2 separate regions of the Homo sapiens genome follow, and region 1 is linked to region 2. The links are contacts of gene promoters, found by promoter capture Hi-C in blood cells and fetal thymus (Javierre and others, 2016). All regions are on one chromosome and are shown on one strand. Each heading gives the region's core, a stretch centred on a gene start or on the middle of the fragment in contact. The rest is flanking DNA. Distances are from core to core; before and after follow the strand shown.

Region 1 (3,619 bases), core at 964-3,463, 320 kb after region 2:
ACTCTGAATAATTAAATATCCAAAGCCCATTAAATGGGGACTAGAACAGACTGGCTTTATGCTGAATGATGCTTTACAGGGAGATACAGAACTCAACAAGATTACAAGAAGTAAGAAGTAATTATACTTCAGAATTAGCATGAGCTTCTTATCCATGGAAGGCACTGTGTGTTGGGTTATATAATTGTGTATGACAGTGGTTCTTACACTTTTTGATCTTAGGACCCCTTTACACTCTTAAAAATTGTTGAGCACCTGAAGAGCCTTCGTGTAGCTTATATCTGTTGATGATGTTTATTAGAAATTAAAACTGAGAAAAACTTAAAATATGTATTTATTAATATGCTTACAAATAATAATAGACCCACACCCATAACATAAATTGACAGTTTATGTAAAATGTTTTTCAAAACAAAAATTTAGTGGGAAGAATGGCATTATTTTGCCTTTTTGTAACTCTTTGTTCAGCTTTATAGAAGACAGCTGGATTCTTACATTGCTTCTGCATTCAGTCTCTTGAGATGTCACATCATGCAGCCTCAGGAACACCCCACTGCATGCTTGTGAGAGAATGACTGTAAACAAAAGTAACATCTTAAATATTATGTATGAAAATTGTTTTGACCTTCTGGATCCCCTGAATGGGTCCTGGAAACTTTCAGGGGTCCAGGACCACACTTTGAGAACCCACTTGTGTAAGCTATAGTTAACAGTTAAGGATACCTGCTCATATCAAAATAACTTTAAAAAATTAGAGAAATCCTTAAGGCTACCAACGTTTATGTTTCTGTAGAGACCTGAGGTTTTTGAAATGTATTAGCTGGGAAATAGAGCATGGGCTCTAGTAGTCCTTTGCTGCCAAAAAAGTTAACAGTCTAATCTAGCTGGGGGAGAGACAGGAAGCTAACTAGTTAGAAGATACATCCATGTGGTTTAAGGTAAATGTTGAAAATAGCTATCTCCTAATAACGTAAAGGCTGATTTATGTCTAATTGTTGCTTAAGGGATTCTAGTTTAAAATGAAAAAGTTTTAAATAAAAGGGCATTCTCTCAAGCTTTTTGTTATGTGCACATACCAGATGTTATTTTCAGAAGTTGGAGGCTTGGGCATTCCTTATTTTTGTGGGTAAAAGAGTTTAACCAGTGGGAAAAAACAAAAATTGTTTAAAAAGATGCCCTGAATGCAAGTGTTTTGATAACTAAGGAAAGCCAAGGACCAAGCATTTGAACTTGAGGGTTTGGGTTAAACAGCCAGTTAAATTAGAGATATTTAGTAGGATAGGCATGCTAATTTTTCCCTGATTAATTCTTCAATGAGTTGAGAGTGCCTCTTTAAGTTTTCAGTACACACTTGCCTTCATATTACTCTACCCAAGAAAAGTAAGTGTAGATCAAGTAAATGTTCTGCAATTTTGCACCAAAAACTGCAGATAATTCCACCCAAAATACTGGAGATAAACCCTTTTTTAAGAGATCCATTCAGTAGGATGAGGTGTTGATTATTGGTTGTCAGTGGTAATAAATTTGTAATGGACTGATCAGGTTGTGATAAAGAGAAGAAATCAACCTTGATGGAGTGATGGGTTATTTTGTATCGTATTTCTCCACAACCTACATTTAACACTCGTTTGCCCAGTGGACTAAATTTTCTAAATACAATCAGTCATTTCCTTGTCATTAGGTCAAATGCTTTTACTGCTTTTTAGTAACATTCTATGATGTCTTTATTAAGTGCCTAATACTTAATAGAGCAATTAGTAAATATTTGCCTGATAAATAAAGGAACTATCACTTAGATGTGTCTGGCAGGGTCTTTATGTTGAAAATAAACGCAGAGTGAACTTTCCCCAGAATGCTTTCACTAGCCCGCACTCCCAGTATTTTAGTCAGTAAACGTTGGCTGGATTGTGAGCAAATGACCATCTGCAGTGTTGTTATCACAATGAATTTGTGTTCTTTTGGCAGTCTGTATTTATAGATGGGCAGGTGGACAATTTAGTTGTAAATGTGGATGGGGTAGTTAAAAATCAGTGGACAGGTGATACTTTTTTCACATTAATTCTAAAAAGTAGTATTTGAGTTTTATATATCCTTCTGAAGAATTTAAACTTTTTTGGTAATATTTATAAAGCTTAAGTCAAATGTCTTTCTAGTCTTTCTGCAGTATTCCTCCCCAACCCCGTCCCCCAGAATCTTAGAGCAATCTCAGCTTATTTCTAGAGTCTCTAAATGATTGCTCATGGATGTGAAATGTGTGAAATTTAGAATGTGCTCCATGTATGTGTTTTGTTTAAAGAAGCTTCAGTATAGAGATTGAGCCTAACATTTACTTGTTGTGAAGAAGTTTTGACACATTGATGAGAAGTTCTTTCCCTAATAATATGCTTAATAGTGTATACAGAACATCCTTCATGGTCTAAGCAGAAGAAATGATGGAGTTGGGGGAAGAATTCGAACTCTTTGGTGTGGTTTCCTGTTATTTATCCTCAAAATAATTTATTCTCATTCTTTGCTTGTACACCATTAGCCTTAGGCTCGTGTAACAGCCTCCTTTTTCCTCATTGAAATGTATGTAATTTCCTTCTCCACTGGAATATAAAAGATTGATTTTGGATCCTTCAAGCTAGATTTAGAAATACTTATGTTTTTATAGTGTTTGCAGCTCAGTGAGTAGACCAGTGAGTAATTTAGTGTGTAGCTCAGTGAGTCATTTAAATTCCTGTTTTAAAATTTGAGTCCCTCTTCCATCAGGAGCTGATTAACATGTACATTTCCCCTAACCTAACCTGCTCGTTTTTTTTCTTTTTGAGCTTTTCTCCCCTTCTTGAGCTTGTTTGTTTGTTTTTAATATTTTTCCTTCTTTGAAAACAAAATGTTAGTCTCCTTTGATTAAGCTGCAGTCTCTGACCTACATACATACAGGTTTGTGTTCAACCAAGGCATTGAAATAAATAGATTTAGTCGGTAGATTATCATTGTTTGAAGTGGAAAAGGTATGCTGTTTAACATATTTTGATATTTTATGTTTATTCATTGCCTCTTTAGACAGGAGAGCAATTGCATTCTAGGTGTGTTAATAGAGCTTTCCTGGACAGATGGCTTGGAAGGAAGTACTTTGATGGGTTCTCAGTAGGGGCTAGTACTTTTTGGAGGGTGTGTTTGTGATTAAGCTTACCTTGATTGACAGTTTAGAATGCTGAGAATAGCATTAACAACAGTAACAGCTTGTTCATCTTACCTAGAATTGTCTTGTGCCAAGACCCCTCAAGATGCTCTGAGATTTCTGTGTAGTGGTTTCTTTTGAGAATGTAGGTAAGAATAGGTGTCCTTGAGACTGAAAAGAAATTCACCTAAAATTGTTCATTGTGGTTGTATCTTAAAATCTTTGGGGTCGTTGAATGAACTTTGGCTTAGAAATTTGTAGAGATCGTCTTTTTAACTGCTGTGAGTCTGCAGATGTGATTATCTATAGTAATTCCAGATGTTTTCTCATCTATTAGTTTTACTGAGTAGGAAGATAACTGAGAACAACATAAAGTAACTTCAAAGCAGTTTGCTAGCATTTAATCCTGACTAATTTAATTAATTATTCATCCTTGTAGTTTTTCCTATTTTATTG
Region 2 (3,988 bases), core at 295-2,794:
GGTTTTTCCCCCCCCCCCTTTTCTTATTCCACTAATGGTGGAGTCCACTGGTTCCCTTAATAACCTCTAGCCTTCCAGAAGGTGTTTCCTTATAGCTAAGGTAAATGTCTGGACCAGTGGTTCTCAAATACTTTGGTTTCAAGACCCCTTCATCCTCTTAAAACTTATTGAAGACTCCAAGAAGCTTTTTTTCATGTGGGTTTTACCTGTCGGTATTTGACATATTAGAAATTAAAACTTCGAAGGGAGAACAACAGATGAGAGACACAGAGCCCTGGCAGGGTGGACTCCTAGTCCCACACCTTCTTAGCCTTTTGCTTCCACATTACCTGAACCAGTCAACACCCCTTTCACAACAGCTAATCCGGTTGGGTTTCTGCCACTAGCAAATGAAAGGGGACTGAACAATACATCCACAAAACAGAGAATTAGCCTAAGACAATAAATAATAAAGGATTAACTTGAGTATAACAGAATGCTGTTTCCTCCCTATATTCGTCATCAATTAAGTGAGAGCCTACTGAAGAGTAATGAATATTACCATCACTGCTAACAGTGCCTTATGGGTTTCAAAGAACTTTCACATTTAGTATTTAAGTTTCACTGGAACCCTATGAAGTATCTTGTTTCATATCCATTTTACAGATGAGAAAACTGAAATGTCCAGTGCCTGTGTGACTTGTCACAGCGGTTTTGCAGCAGAGCCAAGACTAAATTCAAATCTTACTCTCTAAATTCCCGTGGCCCGCCTCACAGGATGCTTGCAGTTTCATGGGGCACAGACCTGTAGCACAAGACTTCCCAGATTTAAAAATCCATCCTCCTGCGAGGAGAGGGGAGCGATCAGCGTAGCAGATTCTCTAAATACTCATTGTATTTGGCTCTGGTCTGTGTGGCGTGAAGAAGGGGGCACGAGTGAGGTTCGAGTTAGCATGGTAACCATTCTTTCTCAGCTCTGTGACTGAGGGGCTGCGGGAGGGGGTTATAGTGGTGCTGGGCATGGCCTCGGGGAGAAGCTGGATAATGCCCTCTGCAGATAACCCGTAGGCTGCGCCACAGCAGCGCCAAGGAAAGAAAGCATCTCTGCTCCAGGTCTCGGCGGAAGAGATGCGGGAACTACGGGGCTCTGATTCTGAGGTCCTGGATTTGGAAGGCGTCTGCACACAAAGAAATAACAAAGTTAAGTTCCCGCGGCTCGACCAGCAGAGTACGAAACGGGGCCTCCCTTCCCAGCTCGGGTGGAAACGCCTCCACCCTGTCACCCCGCCCATAGCAGGTCTTTTATCCGCTGGAGCCGCCTGGACAGTCCTCGCGGGGCACGCCCGAGGCTCCCCGGAGGAACTACAAGTCCCATGAAGTCCCGGGGCGCGGGCGGTGATGACGAAGCCCTCGCCGATTGGCCGCACGGGGCGGGGCGCGCAGGCCTTCTCCGAGAGGAGGGGCGGGGCGTGGGGCGGGGCGAGCAGCGGCGGATTGGCGGGCACGCCCCCTCGCCCGCGGCCCCCTCCCCGCCTCTCTCCACCGCCTCCTCTGGCTCCCCGGTCAGAGGGCCGGAGCGAGAAGATGGCGAAGACGTACGATTATCTCTTCAAGCTCCTGCTGATCGGCGACTCGGGGGTAGGCAAGACCTGCCTCCTGTTCCGCTTCTCAGAGGACGCCTTCAACACCACCTTCATCTCCACCATCGGTGAGGGAGGGGCCGCGGCCCGGGACCGGGTAGAGAATTGGGGGGCGGGTACTAGGGGACGGGGAAAGGGCGGGGGGCGCTTGGGAGCCCGGGAGAGGAGACCCCGGGGACTGCAAGGTGGCGGGGGCACTGAGAGGGGCGAGGGCGTGAGGGAGAGGGGCGAGGGCGTGAGGGAGAGAGGCGAGCGGGAACGTGAGGCTAAGGGCGAAGGGGGAACTTGGGGGCAAAGGAACGGGAAGGGGAACAGAGGAACAAGGACTAGGGGTATTGGGGGAACGAGAGGGTTCGGAGACTGACAGGGAGGGGTCTTTGAGGGACAAAATGTGTTGGGGGGAAGACTCAGGAAATCTCATGTAGAGAGAAGGGGATAGTGGACGTGCCAATGATTAAAAGACAGGAGAGGAAGGAAATGTGAAGGGGGAAATGAGGGATGGGGGCAATGAGAGGGATGTGAAGTAAAGGGACAGAGGACACAAGGGACAGAGAGGTGAGAACCAGGCAACTGGAAGGGAATTCAGGGGAATGAGCGGTCAGGAGGTGAGGAAGAAGGGGACGGCTGGCCACAGGAGGTCTGGACTGAGATGTCGTAGGAGGGGACAGAAGAAAATTGTAGGTGGAAGAAGAGTTCAAGGGATCAGAGGGCAGAATGAGGATACTTGATGGAGAAAGTAAAGGGATCTGGGTGTGAGACAGAAAGGAAAAGAGGAAGCAACATCATAGTAAAGGGAGGTTGAGCAGAGAAGACAGAGGAGATGGAAAAGAGAGGAAATGGAAAGTAGTGGGGCGCAAGACTTGCTATAGTAACTGATTACCATTTTCTCTTCACTTCCTTTGGATCAAGTGCAGGAGAAAGCAAAATGTGACTAATGATGGAATAATGTCTATAGAGCGTTAATTTGTTCTGTGAGTGTTAATGGATGTTAAGGGAATTGGTGACTTTTGGAAATGATGTGGTCAGGAAAATATGGTTCACCTCTTTACTACCATCTCCTGAGAAGCAAGACTTCTCAGTATTTTAAATCCTTCGGTTTGAATGTTTAACAGCTTCTCAGCCAAGGAAATGAACTTACATTCTACCTGCCTCCCTGTATATTTTGCTTTGGTTCTAATTATTGTTAAGTGAATCACAACATGTGATATACCTCTCAGTTACTTCCAATTGAATCAAGAGTTTTTCTGATCCTGGCTGGGAGCTGTCCTTTCTACTTTTGTACTGGAAGACACTGTGTTCAGGTAATAAGATCTCTTAACTTATCATAAACTGAAGACCAAGTCAAAGCTGGTTTTAAGCTGTTTTAGAAGTGACCACCTTAACATCATTTCTCCTGTTAAATAGTTGCAGGTTAATTAAGTACCTTAAGAATACCTCAGCTTTTGGTTGTGTTGGTGATGTTTCTGGCCTCTAATAGTGGCTTATTTAGTCATCTTTCGTATGGTTCTTACAGCATATTTCACCATGAATTTCTGGGTTGGGAAATAATAGAGAGCTAGTGCTTTGGTAATACGTGTGTTTAAATATTTGTGTATTTTTAAGGATAATTTATCTTTTTTTAAAAAAAGAGTATTTGGTATAGAACACTCTTTAAGTATTAGTAAAGGCTATGGTTTGTTTGCTCATTCTGGATTCTTTCATATAGATTGAATGGTCTAAAATCTCCTGGGTGTTATGATGTCTGGGCTTAGGGAAGTTTGAATTGCAAGTTCTTGGCAGTCAGTCTTGAGTGGGACTTTTTCTTTTCTGAAAAAGCAGATTTTAAATGTCATCTCTCAAGTATATTCCTAAGATTTGGTGGTAGCTGCTGGTACAGCAACTAAAGGGTGTTAATTTTTGACATTTGTATTAATTTCAAAGCCTCAAATAACAATTTTTCATTGTTGAATGCATACTGCAGTACAGATGGTAAAGGATAATTTCTAACAAGTTGAGTGGGTGTCCTTTTGTCCATTCTGTATTTGAGCCTCCCAGAAGTATCTCCTGCCTTGAAAGTAAGTGAATCTCGCTGATGCTGTTTTTGTTAAGCTTCTTGGACGACTTGCTTGTTTGTAATAGTTTTATTCGTTTTCTCTTTTTCCCTTAATTTTTGTCCCATGTTTCCTGTAAGGGTATCTGGTTCCTTTTAAAATAGTAGCTTTTAAAAATTACTTTTCATTTTGAAGGGTTCAAGTCTATCAGTGGATTTCAAAAAATGATGGAAATGAGGTTCTTTGGAGGGTGACAGCTATGAAGGCATGAAAACCAGTGTCCTGAAACAGATTAGAATAGGAAGTGAACATGAAAAGGAGGTGAATCTCATGTGACAT

Evidence for each region. The method cuts DNA at HindIII sites, captures the fragments that hold promoters and counts their contacts. A CHiCAGO score of 5 or more calls a contact.
Region 1: a fragment that was not itself captured here is called in contact with the fragment with the promoter of RAB8B in region 2 in 8 of 17 cell types (fetal thymus, naive CD4 T cells, activated CD4 T cells and 5 more); the score reaches 10.1 in fetal thymus.

Annotation. Positions count from the first base shown.
Region 1 is chr15:63,507,537-63,511,155 of GRCh38, forward strand. The region is part of intron 1 of USP3 (ubiquitin specific peptidase 3); the gene reads left to right. Among named protein-coding and RNA genes, the nearest start is that of USP3, 4.8 kb to the left of the region's middle. The HindIII fragment of the contact is 168 bases long and covers 2,130-2,297 here.
Region 2 is chr15:63,188,062-63,192,049 of GRCh38, forward strand. RAB8B (RAB8B, member RAS oncogene family) reads left to right here and starts at 1,545. Exons shown (of 8, transcript NM_016530.3): 1 at 1,545-1,687. The coding sequence starts at 1,564. It overlaps LOC101928972 (a long non-coding RNA gene), which reads right to left and starts at 1,370. Exons shown (of 4, transcript XR_932355.4): 1 at 785-1,370. RefSeq lists an enhancer at 970-1,119 and a silencer at 1,300-1,629. The HindIII fragment of the contact is 3,523 bases long and covers 183-3,705 here.